Regions from separate parts of the Homo sapiens genome. Here region 2 is linked to region 1. The links are contacts of gene promoters, found by promoter capture Hi-C in blood cells and fetal thymus (Javierre and others, 2016). All regions are on one chromosome and are shown on one strand. The core of a region is centred on a gene start or on the middle of the fragment in contact, and the rest is flanking DNA. Distances in the headings are between cores, read along the strand shown. Region 1 holds the start of SHFL (shiftless antiviral inhibitor of ribosomal frameshifting). Region 2 overlaps SMARCA4 (SWI/SNF related BAF chromatin remodeling complex subunit ATPase 4).

Evidence for each region. The method cuts DNA at HindIII sites, captures the fragments that hold promoters and counts their contacts. A CHiCAGO score of 5 or more calls a contact.
Region 2: a fragment that was not itself captured here is called in contact with the fragment with the promoter of SHFL in region 1 in 1 of 17 cell types (neutrophils); the score reaches 6.0 in neutrophils.

The regions. Positions count from the first base shown.
Region 1 is chr19:10,082,797-10,089,319 of GRCh38, reverse strand. SHFL (shiftless antiviral inhibitor of ribosomal frameshifting) reads right to left here and starts at 3,003. Exons shown (of 8, transcript NM_018381.4): 1 at 2,872-3,003; 2 at 2,268-2,391; 3 at 2,020-2,069. The coding sequence starts at 2,892. RefSeq lists silencers at 2,735-3,014, 3,085-3,304. The HindIII fragment of the contact is 8,670 bases long and covers 1-4,762 here.
Region 2 is chr19:10,961,382-10,967,904 of GRCh38, reverse strand. The region is part of intron 1 of SMARCA4 (SWI/SNF related BAF chromatin remodeling complex subunit ATPase 4); the gene reads right to left. Among named protein-coding and RNA genes, the nearest start is that of SMARCA4, 3.6 kb to the right of the region's middle. RefSeq lists an enhancer at 3,861-3,990 and a silencer at 6,508-6,523. The HindIII fragment of the contact is 1,307 bases long and covers 4,505-5,811 here.

The sequences.
Region 1 (6,523 bases), core at 1,754-4,253:
ACGTTGTGCTCGGCTAAGTGGGAGAGAGATGTGGGTTCAAATCCCAGCTGTATCACTTCCAGCTGTGGGGACTTGGGCAAGCCACTCCCTGCCCCCTGGGTTCCCACTGACAGGCATGTTAGAGCCCAGGCTCTGACTCCAGGTGGCCAGGGTTCAAATCGCAGCTGCCCCTGCTTGCTGGCAAGTGACTTCGGCCTCAGTTTCTTTGTCTGTGAAATGGGGATAAATAATAGGACCTGTCTCCTGGGGTCACTGCAGTGATGAAATAAATAAATTCCTGGAATCTTGCCATGTGGGAAGTACTCAATGAATGCTACTCTCTGCTAATATTATTATTATTATTATTATTATTATTATTATTATTATATTTTTGAGACGGAGTTTCGCTCTTGTCTCCCAGGCTAGAGTGCAATGGCACAATCTTGGCTGACTGCAACCTCTGCCTCCCAGGTTCAAGTGATTCTTCTGCCTTAGCCTGCCAAGTAGCTGGGATTACAAGCATGCACTGCCACGCCCAGCTAATTTTTTGTATTTTTAATAGAGAAGGGGTTTCACCGTGTTGGCCAGGCTAATCTCGAACTCCTGACCTCAAGTGATCTGCCCGCCTCAACCTCCCAAAGTGCTGGAATTACAGGCGTGAGCCACCACACCTGGCCCCTCTGCTATCATTTTTATCATACTTTTATATGTATAAATGTAGACTATGATACATGTTTTGTTATACTCTGGTTTTGTTTGTTTTTGTTTGTTTGAGACGGAGAATCGCTCTGTTGCCCAGGCTGGAGTGCAGTGGTGCGATCTCGGCTCACTGCAAGCTCCGCCTCCCGGGTTCACGCCATTCTCCTGCCTCAGCCTCCTGAGTAGCTGGGACTACAGGGGCCTGCCAGCACAACTGGCTAATTTTTTTTTTCGTATTTTTAGTATAGATGGGGTTTCACCATGTTAGCCAGGATGGTCTCGATCTCCTGACCTCATGATCCGCCCGCCTTGGCCTCCCAAAGTGCTGGGATTACAGGCGTGAGCCACCGCGCCCGGCATTTTTTTTTTTTTTTTTTTTTTGAGACAGAGTTTCGCTCTTGTTGCCCAGGCTGGAGTGCAATGGTGTGATCTCAGCTCACTGCAACCTCCGCCTCCTGGGTTCAAGTGATTCTCCTGCCTCAGCCTCCCGAGTAGCTGGGATTACAGGCATGCGCCACCATGCCCAGCTAATTTTGTATTTTTTAGTAGAGACGGGTTTCTCCATGTTGGTCAGGCTGGTCTCAAACTCCCGACCTCAGGTGATCCGCCCGCCTCGGCCTCCCAAAATGTTGGGATTGCAGGCGTGAGCCACCGCGCCTGGCCTATTATACTCTTTAACAGCCCTACACTAAGCCTTTCAGGCAGGCTAAATCCACAGCGTTCCCATCACCAAAGCTGTCAAAGAAGCAAAGTAGCCATGATGCACCTGTGCTTCAAAGCCATTCATTCATTCATTCATTCATTCATTCATTCATTCATTCAACACAAGGGTTCCATTCCCCTGCCTCTCTCTCCTCCCCAATCCTCTGCTCATCCTAGCCTTTCTAGAGACTGCCACTAACAACCCTTCCCCACCTCCCAGCCTTTGCTTATGCCATTCCCTCCCCCACCCCAAGACCCCTGCCTTTCTTTCCCTTTCCCCTCCCAGGGCTCACTCCTCCCCATCCTTTAAGACTTGGTACCTCCTCCTCCAGTAAGCCTTCTCTGACCTCTGCGCCCCCGCTATGATGGCAATAATCCTGGCTCCTTTCATTGCTTAGTTTCATGGCTCTCTCCCCCATTGAATACAATCAGCACATAATGAGCGCCTACTGTTTGCAGGCTCCCTGGCCGGACAAATGATGGAGAGGTGAAAAAGTGAGATTGGGTGATGAGTTATGGACCGACAATGCCTGGTCCCTCCTGTTTCAGAGGGGGGTCAGTCACCATGAACGGGTCGGGTCCCCCCTCTTGCTCTCCCTCCCGTGACCCGGTCCTTTGCGAGGGGAGGGGATAGGTTACCTGGGCATCCAGATCGTTACTTAGTTCTTGGCCATCTTTTTGCTTTACCCCTGCGGGGGAGAGTGCATATAAGGGAAGGGCCCTTGAAGGGTCTGTGGGAGTTCCAGGCCACCCAGAGCCGCGACGCAGAGCCTCCCCAAGGCTGGGACCTCCGGGGGAGGTGATCTCAACGCCTCTCCCTAGACCACGCCCCCTCGGCGCTCCCACGCGCGGTCCCCGCACCAGGCCCGGGACCCCTGCAGCCTCACCGTACACGATGGAGCGCCCCACTCCCGTGTGGTCGCTGCCGAATTTCCTCATCAGAGCCCCCGCCTTCTTGGAGGATACCTTCCCATGAAACTTCTCCCGGAGGCGCCGGACGCTCTTCTCCAGCTGGGATGGAGACAGGGGGGTTCCGGTGGGGGAAGGGGAAACGGGATCATCCCTCCCCCATCTCTAGGCACCGTTCTCCCGGCCCGAACTTGACCCTTGGTTTTGGCCTCCGCCGCCCCCCCCCCGCCTTTCATCCCTTTACGGCATTTCCTGGAAAAAGCCAAAGTCCCCACAGGGCGTTGGGGGAAGGCGCGGACTGGGGCGAGCGTCCCAGCCTAAGGTGTGGGGGGGCGGCCAGGTTATCTCTGGCCTCTGACCTTTGACCCTGCAGCCCCCGCTTTTCCTCGGGGAGGCCTCATTTCGCTCTGGGGAAACGTGGGAGTCACTTTCCTTTTCAAGGGGGGCGAGCGCCAGGCAGGGGTAAGGATCTGGGGTTCTAGGATGGGGGTCCCCAGGAACTGCGAAGCCCCCTCCGCGCCTCCCGGCCGCTCCTCGGGGTCTGTCGCGGCTGACCCCGGCCCAGCCGTAGCCATCGCTTACCTCCACACCTTCCTGAGACATGGTGGCGGCGGCGCAGTTCCCCGCGAGGGTCCGCACTGCGCGGCTCAGCCGCCCCCCTACCTGGGTGCGCCCGTCGGTCCAGCAGCCGCGCAGGGCAGGGGGCGGTGCCTCGGGGCCGGCTCCGCCCTTCCTCCCCGGCCCCTGTTTCGCTTTCGATTCAGGGGGGACCCGGCGCGCTGGCTCCGCCCTGGCTCCGCCTCTGCTCTTGCGCCCCAAACCCAGGCGGGCGCCCCGGGTCTGCACCCTGCGGCGGAGCGCGCAGACCTCGGACGGGGGAGGCGGCGCGGCCTCTGCAGTCGGTCACATGTCCCCACGCTGCGCGGGGTCCGCGTCTTCACGTCCCTCGTGGGGGCGGGGCCGCATCAGAAGGCCGCGGCGAGGCCCCGCGCCCCCCCACCCAGCGCGCGCTCCCCCAGTTCATCACCCTCCTCTCTGTTCTCCCTCCTTCCCCGGGAATCTGGCGCTCATGAGGACCTGGGCCCTTTTCCTGCCCTGAGTCTCTGTCCTAGCTACGGTCACCTCTCTCAACCTCAGTTTACCCCTCTGTGAAATGGGGAGAATCCTGGTGTCTACACCATGGAGTGGAGTATGTGCCAAGATTCCCGAGTGGATCGCGTAATAGCGCCTGGCTTGCAGTAGGCGTTCAACTAGTCACTGGGCCACCTGCTGTGTGCCCTTGATAGGGGCAGGCAGTGTGTGTGTGGTTGGGGGGAGCGGTGCTTGAGAAAAATACAGATTCTTGGTCTCTAGTAGCCCGGTAGAATCCGGCTGTCTCAGGGATCCAGGGAATCTGCAATGGTTAAGAACCCCGTGGGACGGACAATTCTAACCCAGTACAGGGCACATCAGGGAGCCCTTAGGTGGTGGGGCTCTGGCCCAGCCTGGGGACACAGAGATGGCAACTTCATTGGAGGAGGGGATGCTTTGTAGAGTCACTGAAATTGGAGGTCTTAGCTAGGGGAGGAATAGAGTGGGGAGATGAGGCAGCCGTGCAGAGCCCCCAAAGCAAGACTAAGTCTGGGGTTTTTGGGCAATGGCTTCTCAAGCCCAGCACTCTTGACACTTTGGGCGGCCTAGTTCTTTGTGTGGGGGACTGTCCTGTGTATTGGGGGACATTTAACACCATCCCTGGCCTCCACCCACTAGATGCCAGTGGTTCCCTACTCTCCCTGTTGTGACTACCAAAAACGTCTCCAGAGACTGCCGGATACTCTCTGAGGAGCAAAATAGCATTGTGTTCAACGACTCCAAATTTTTTTCTCCATTGCACACCCCTATAGGTAAAAGTGTTAAAGTTACACCCCCAGATGGATATTTATTCATTTATTTATTTTTTGAGACAAGATCTTGCTCTGTTGCCCAGGCTGGAGTGCAGTGGTTTGATGGTGGCTCACTGCAGCCTCTAACTCCTGGGCTCAAACGATCCTCCTGCCTCAGCCTGCTAAGTAGCTGGGACTACTGGCATATGCCACTATGCCTGGTTAATTTTCTATTTTTTTTGTAGAGACGGGGTCTCACTATGTTGCCCAGGCTGGTCTCAAACTCCTGGCCTCAAAGATGGATATTATTTATAAATTATATACAAATACAATTATATCAATATATTCTGTTAACTGTTATATAAAATATTGATAGATAAATGGAGCTGGGCATGATGGTTCACACCTGTAATGCTAGCACTTTGGGAGGTCAAGGTGGGAGAATCACTGGAGGTCAGGAGTTCAAAACCAGCCTGGGCAACATAGCAAGACCTTGTCTTTAAAAAAAGAAAAAAGAAAAGGAAAAAGTTATTTTTAAAAGACTAAAAAACAAACAATAAAACCCCCCAAATCTAGATATTCTAAAGTTTTTCCAGTTGAACCCCAAAGCTTTGTTTATAGGGTGTATGTACTCCACTCTGGAGACTACTGTATTTGCAAACTACAAGCAGTTCATGATTCCTTGTGGCTGAATGGTGGAATCCTAGGCAGGATGGGGGCTGGAAACTGCACAGAAGACCTGGGATTTTATCCTGAGGGAAGTGGCGAGGTTTGGAGTGGATCGCCTGTCATAGTTGCCAGTTACTAATCTATTTGCCCAGTGCAGAGGGAGGTCATAGCTATGTCCCATTCACTGGCCGAGATGGGCACTGAGTGGGCAGGAAACAGGTAAGAGTCTGAGCTAGCCCTGACATAAATCAGATCTGGTAGGTTTTTTGTTTTTTGATTTTTTTTTTTAGCGCAGAATATGCAGACCAAAGGTCTGTTAGGTTATAATCACCGTGGCAACCACATAGAGCGTGTACTCTGTTCCCAATGCTGTTCCAGGCACTGTGGACATGACAGCAAACAAAACAAAGATCCCTGCCCTCGTAGAGCTAGCATTTTTTTAAATTTGTTTTAAGAGACGGGGTCTCACTCTGTCACCCAGGCTGGCGTGCAGTGGCACAATCATAGCTCCGCTGCAGCCTCAACCTCCTGAGCTCAAGCAATCCTCCGGCCTTGGCCTTCTGAGTAGCTGGGACTGCAGGTATGTGCCACCACATCCGGCTAATTTGTTTGTTATTTTGTTGTTGTTTTGTTTGGGTTTTGTTTTTGTTTTGAGACAGAGTCTTGCTCTGTCACCCAGGTTGCAGTGCAGTGGCACGATCTCGGCTCGCTGCAACCTCTGCCTCCCGGGTTCAGGCAATTCTCCTGCCTCAGCCTCCCGAGTAGTTGGGACTACATGCATGTGCCACCACTCCCGGCTAATTTTTATACTTTTTTGTAGAGCTGGGGGCGGGGGGGTCTCACTATGTTGCCCAGGCTGGTCTTGAACCCCTGGGCTTAAGTGATCCTGTTGCCTTGGCCTCCCAAAATGCTGGGATTTCAGGTGTGAGTCACTGCACCTGGTCCATCCTTATGATTTCATGTGGTCTTTGTAGCTTAGGACTTGAGAAATGGCTTTGCTGCTGGGCTGTTCTGGCTCAGGGCCTCTCAGAAGGTTGCAGTTAAGGAGTTGGTCAGGGCTTCAGTCATCTGAAGGTTTGACGGGGGCTGGCGAATCTGCTTCCAAGGTGGCTCACTCTCAGGGCATGCAGATGGGTGCTATGATTGGCGGGATGCCTCGATTCCTCCCAGTATACTTGAGTGGCATGAGTGTACTCCCAGCATGGGAGCTGGCCTCCCGAGCACCTTCCAAGAGCTGAGAGCCAGGTGGAAGTTGTATCTTTTTATGATCTAGCCTGAAAGTCCCACATCACTTCAGCCACATTATGTACATTAAAAGCTCATTGACTGGGCACAGTGGCTCATGCCTGTAATCTCGGCACTTGGGAAGCCAAGGCAGGAGGATCACTTGAGGCCAGGATTTCGAGGCCATGCTGGGCAACATAGTGAGACCCCATCAGCCAGGCGCGGTGGCTCACTCTTGTAACCCCAGCACTTTACGAGACCAAAGTAGGTGGATCACCTGAGGTCAGGAATTCGAGACCAGCCTGGCTAACATGGAAACCTCATCTCTACTAAAAATACAAAAATTAGCTGGGCGTGGTGGCGGGTACCTGTAATCCCAGCTATTTGGGAGGCTGAGGCAGGAAAATCACTTGAACCCAGGAGGCAGAGGTTGCAGTGAGCCAAGATTATGCCACTGCACTCCAGCCTGGGTGACAGAG
Region 2 (6,523 bases), core at 3,909-6,408, 880 kb before region 1:
ACTCCGTCTCAAAAAAATAAATAAATAAATAAAAATTAAAAAAAAATACAAAATTAGCCGGGCATGGTGGCGCACGCCTGTAATCCCAGCTACTCAGGAGGCTGAGGTAGGAGAATTGCTTGAACCTGGAAGGCAGAGGTTGCAGTGAGCCGAGATCACACCGCTGCACTCCAGCCTGGGAGAAAAGAGTACAACTGTCTCCAAAAAAAAAAAAAAAAACCACACATTTGAAAGGGGCCAGGGTTGGTTTCCACCCTACTAACATTTACCTATTTTCTAAAGAAAGCCCCCTTCCAGTCGGGCGCAGTGGCTCACGCCTGTAATCCCAGCAGTTTGGGAGGCTGAGGCAGACGGATAACGAGGTCAGGAGATCAAGACCATCCTGGCTAACATGGTGAAACCCCGTCTCTACTAAAAATACAAAAAATTAGCCGGGCGTGGTGGCGGGCGCCTGTAGTCCCAGCTACTCAGGAGGCTGAGGCAGGAGAATGGCGTGAACCCGGAAGGGGGAGCTTGCAGTGAGCTGAGATCGTGCCACTGCACTCCAGCCTGGGCGACAGAGAGAGAGCAAGACTCCATTTCAAAAAATAAAATAAAATAAAATAAAATAAAAACAAGAAAGCCCCCTTCCCTGAGGGAATTGGAGGGAAATCAATGTGTCCCTTCTCTCTGCCCTGTAACAACAAACCCAGCTACACCTGGCACTTCCATCCAGGCCCTTTCCCATATATGAAGAAGAGTTGAGGCCACAAATCACATGCCCATCAATCCCACACCCTGAAAAATTAATGATTAATGTCCTTAGGATGCAGTTAACAGAAAACTTCAATCAAGAAATCACTGGGCATACTAATGAGTCCGCTATGTCTCCTTAGGGTTGACACCTATGAGGGTGGCAGCACCTGAAGCTCCATTCAGCCTCAGGCTTCATTCTGACCTGTTCCCTCTCATACCTTCCCCCAGTATTCCAGCAGCTGTTATCCTTCCCAACCCCCGGCTTTTTTTTTTTCTTTTGTAGAGACGTAGTCTTGCTCTGTCGCCCAGGCTGGAGTGCAGCGGCACGATCTCGGCTCCCTGCAACCTTGGCCTCCCGGGTTCAAGCAATTCTCCTGCCTCAGTCTCACAAGTAGCTAGGACTACAGGCGCACACCACCATGCCCAGCTAATTTCTTTTGTATTTTCGTAGAGACGGGGTTTCACAATGTTGCCCAGGCTGGTCTTGAACTCCTGAGCTCAGGCGATCCGCCCGCCTCGGCTCCCAAAGTGCTAGGAATACAGGCATGAGCCACCGCGCCCAGCCCAACCCCCGGCTTTTTTAAGATAGGGTCTTGTTGTGTCACCCAGGTTGGAGTGCAGTGGTGCGATCACAGCTTACTGCAGCCTCCACCTCCTCGGCTTGATCCTCCCACGTCAACCTCCCAAGTAGCTGGGACTACAGGTGTGCAACACCATGCTTGGCTAATTTTTTAACTTTTCTGTAGAGACGGGGTTTCGCCATGCTGCCCAGGCTGGTCTTGGATTCCTGGGATCAAGTGATTTGCCCTGCTGGGCCTCCCAAAGTGTGGGAATTACAGGCATGAGCCACCACACTCGGCTGAACATTTGATATTTTTAAAAACCTGGCCGGGCGCGGTAGCTCACGTCTGTAATCCCAGCACTTTGGGAGGCTGAGGCAGGTGGGTCACCTGAGGTCAGAAGTTCAAGACCAGCCTGGTCAACATGGTGAAACCCCGTTTCTACTAAATATACAAAAAATTAGCCAGGCATGGTGGCGGGCACCTGTAATCCCAGCTACTCGGGAGGCTGAGGCAGGAGAATTGCTTGAACTCTGCAGTCGGATGTTGCAGTGAGCCAGGACCGCATCATTGTGCTCCAGCCTGGGCAACAAGAGCGAAACTTCACCTCAAAAAAAAAAAAAAAAAAAAAAAAAAAAACCATGCCACTAAACACACTCTCCCTTTTCCAATGCCTTATGGTGAAATTTCAAAGCATGGTTTTCTTCACCACATAACATTTTGGTCAATGATGGACCAAATATACAATAGTCCCATAAGATTATACCTTCCTCCTTGAATTGTCTAATTAGAAAAATTTTTTAAAGATCATAATACTGTATTTTTCCCATACGTTTTCTGTTTAGATATATTTAGATACACAAATACTATCGGGTCACAACTGCCTACAATAATCGGTACAGTGACATGCTGTACAGGTGTATAGCCTGGGAACAATAGGCTATACCACAGAGCCTACATGTGGACTAGGCTCCACCATCTAGACGTGTGTAAGCACACTCTATCATCTTCACGCAACCACAAAATCATCTCACAACGCATTCCTCAGAATGCATCCCTGCTGTTAAACAATGTGCAGCCATTAAGGACAAAATGGAGGAGCTGACTCCTTTGCTACCACTTTGAAACATACAGAACTTATGACTAGAGGAAAAAGTATATTATCTGTGTCATCCCACCAGGCTGTTGCAGGAATCCTAATAAATGATGAGCACTAACAACTGTTTAGCACTATGTGCCAGGCACCATTCTAAGCACTTCGCATTTGTCACTGGTTGTTCAGCTCTTGCAGCAATCCTACAAGCTGGGTACTAGTACTGTCCCCCTTTGCAAGTCAAGAGTGGGGTGTGAGCTACTAAGAACAGGACCCTTGTCTGCCTGTTCCCCATGGAATCCCCAGCTCCCCAGCAGTGCCTGGCACATGGCAGGCGCTCAATGCATGCTTGTTCGCCACATAAATGGGGAAGAGTGGCTGGGTCATTTCTTGCACAACTCCAGGGGGCACTATTCACATTGTGTTCTGTCTACAGGCACCATGAATGGGTCCTTCTGTGCCATGGCAGCCTTGATGACCGAGGGATGGAAAGACAAAACCAGGAGTCAAACCCAGGTGGTTGACTTGACAACCCTTGTGGAAAGAAAATAACCCTAGGCCTCAGTTTCCTTACTGATAGAAAGTTCCACCAGACTGGCTGGGCACGGTGGCTCACGCCTATAATCCCAACACTTTGGGAGGCCGAGGTGGGCAGATTACAGGAGGCCAGGAGTTCGAGACCAGGAGTTCTGGCCAACATGGTGAAACCCGGTCTCTACTAAAATACAAAAATTAGCTGGGCATGGTGGTGCACGTCCTTAGTCCCATCCACTCCAGAGGCTGAGGCATGAGAATCGCTTGAGACCAGGAGGCGGAGGTTGCAGTGAGTCAAGATCGCACCACTGCACTCCAGCCTGGGCGACAGAATGACTCTGTCTCATAAGAAAAAAAAAAAAAGAGGCCGGGCGCGGTGGCTCATACTTGTAATCCCAGTACTTTGGGAGGCCAAGGGCCAAGGTGGGTGGATCAGTTGAGGTCAGGAGTTCAAGACCAGCTTGGCCAACATGATGAAATCCCATCTCTACTAAAAATACAAAACTTAGCCAGGTGTGGTGGTGCACACCTGTGATCCCAGCTACTCAGGAGGCTGAGTCAGAAGAATCGCTTGAACCCGGGAGGCAGAGGTTGCAGTGAGACGAGATCGTGCCATTGCACTCCAGCCTGGGCAACAAGAGTAAGATTCCGTCTCAAAAAAAAAAGAAAGAAAGAAAGAAAGTTCCACCAGACATCTGCCCAAAACCCTAGTCCCTCCCATGCTCCCACCTCCCACAAACAGCCAAAACATGGAATGGTCTAAGGTTATCTCCTGGTGTTTTGAGGGTTCCCAAGGAGAAGCAAAGGTACACAAATAAATTGTAAATAAATACACATATGTTGGAATGCTCCTCACTGACAAGAAGTTTAGAGACCACTGCACTGCCCTATATCACAATTCTGATGACATCACCTCCCCTGCTCAAAAGCCTGCACGATCAACATTTACGTCTCCTAAAGGGCTGGACACAAAATGATTTTAGGTGGCCCATGCAAAACCATTTATTACTTTCCTAACTATGCATGAATTAATTTTTATTCCTTTTTTTAGACAGGGTCTCGCTTCGTCACCCAGGCTGGAGTGCAGTGGCTCAATCATGGTCCACTGCAGCCTGTACCTCCTGCCCCAGCCTCTCAAGGAGCTTGGGACTACAGGGGCATTGCACTCCAGCCCGGATGACAGAGCGAGACTCCGTCTCAAAAAAAAAAAAAAAATCAAGTGTTCACTACGCATCAGGTGCAGCAGTGTGTTAGCGGCTTCCCATGTGACCTCATTCAACCCTCACAAGAAGCCTGTGAAGTTTCGGGCATCCTCGTCCTACCTGTTTCACAAGTGGGGGGCCCTACTGCTAAGCGCCTCGCTTGAGGTTAAGCTACGATTTAGAGAGCTGGGTGTGAATTCAGGAGGTCTGATTCCAGAATGAGTACTCCTTACCACCACCCCACGCTAACCACCACCCCACACTTTGTAGGGGAGATGAGGACAACTGAGGTTCAGGAAACAATGGCTTGGAAAGTGCAAAAACTGTTCAAACAACTAACCTGTATCCCTTACAATCCACCCCCAGTCCTGCACCAAGCTTTCTTTTTCTTTTTTTTTTTTTTTTTTTTTGAGACAGTCTTACTCTGGTGCACAGGCTGGAATGCAGGGGCACAAGAATGGCTCACTGCAGCCTCCACCTCTCTGGCTCAAGCAGTCCTCCTACCTCAGCCTCCTGAGTAGTTGGGACCACCGGTGCATGCCACCACACTCGGCTAATTTTTGTATTTTTTGTAGAGATGAGGTCTCACTATGTTGCCCAGGTTAGTCTCAAACTCCCGGGTTCAAGCAATTTTCCCGCCTCAGCCTCCCCAAGTGCTGGGATTTCAGGTATGAGCCACTGCACCTGGCCCTGCACCAAGCCTTTTACACAGATGGTCACGCGATCTTCCACAGGACCCCCTCATTCAATCCACATAAGTTCGCTAAAGACCTACTATGTGTCAGGCCCAGGGTACTGTGGGGCCAGCCAGGCAGACACAACCCCAGCTCTCACGGTGCTGGGGGTGACAGCTACACCGGAAAGGACCAAGTTGATGTATGAATGTAGCTGAGGGGAACAATGGCTAGTCCGAGGTGGCCAGGGAAAGTCAAAATACAATCCTGGCGCAGTGGCTCACACATGTAGTCCTAGCACTTTGGGAGGCCGAGGTGGGTGGATCACCTTAAGTCAGGAGTTTGAGACCAGCCTGGCCAACATGGTAAAACCCCATATCTACTAAAAATACAAAAATTAGCCAGGCGTGGTGGCGGGCGCCTGTAGTCCCAGCTACTCAGGAGGCTGAGGCAGGAGAATCGCTTGAACCCAGGAGGCGGAGGTTACAGTGAGCGGAGATTGGGACTCTGAACTCCAGCCTGGGCGACAGGCAAGACTCTGCCTCAAAAACAAAATACAATCCTACACACCCTCCCTGATTTTGAGGCCCCCTCTTCCAAGCAGCCCCCGTGATCTCTGGCTACCACCGATCCCCTGCCTGTCCGCTGTGTCCCTCTCACAGTGCAGGTTCAGAGCAATAAACGATAGGCCAAGAGAGTTTGTTCCCACATTTACCACCCGCTCCCCTCCAAGACTGCAGAGGCTCCAGGATCCAACCCCCGACCATCCAACACTTAGTAGGGCCTCAAGAAGTTATCTGCTGAACAATGAGGGAGATTGGACCAGACAATTACAATAGTGCTTCCCGCTTGCGAGGAACCATTTTACAGGCTTTCACCAATTCCATTTGGGAGATTACCCCCTTTCACAAAGGAGCTTTCACAAAGGAGGAAAACTAAGAGGTTCAGAGAGGTTAAGCCACTTCCCTAAAGTGACAGTGTGCTAAGTGACTGACAGCACCAGGAATCAAGCTTGAATGCAGCCTATCAATCCAAACTGAAAACTTGCTTCAAATTCCTGCGAAGCGGCTTTTCCGCTTATTCCCTTGCTACTTTCCCCAAGGAGTCACTGACCAAAAAAAAAAAAAAAAAAAATCAAGACTGGTATCTTCAAGATCGGGACAAAACACTCGCCCAAAAGGTCCACGTTGAAAATAAAAGCCTTAATCTGAAAAACCAATTGGGAAGGAGAAAAAAGGATGCAAAAGAAAAGCAATGCTTTTACACAGCAAAGGATTTCCTCCGTGCTCCCCTACTTGCCGCCGACCCCATCCCCAACCCCAATTCGGGCAAACATTTTGAAGTCACTAACTGCAAGGCATCGGGGGAGTCCTTTACCTTTCCTTGAAAATCTGGAATGACACGTTTTTAAGACAATTTGAGGTCGGCTAGCCCAAGGGGACCGCTAATGCCCGTGTCCGGCCGACGCCGGACATATCTGGAGGTTTGGCTGAGCCCCGATCGCAGCTTCGCCAAAAACGCAACATTCGGGTCGGACCCGTTACCACGCAGCCAGAAAAGCCCCAACGCCTGCCTATTGTTGCAGCCGCTGTAATTGGGAGGGCGACTGTAGGGGTGCCGGGCGAGGGGGGCGAGCTTTGTCCGGCGACCCCGGCGAGAGCGCGCGCGGAGAGGATCGCGCGGCCTCCACGCGGCCCGGGCCCCCCACCCACCCCGCCGCTCCGC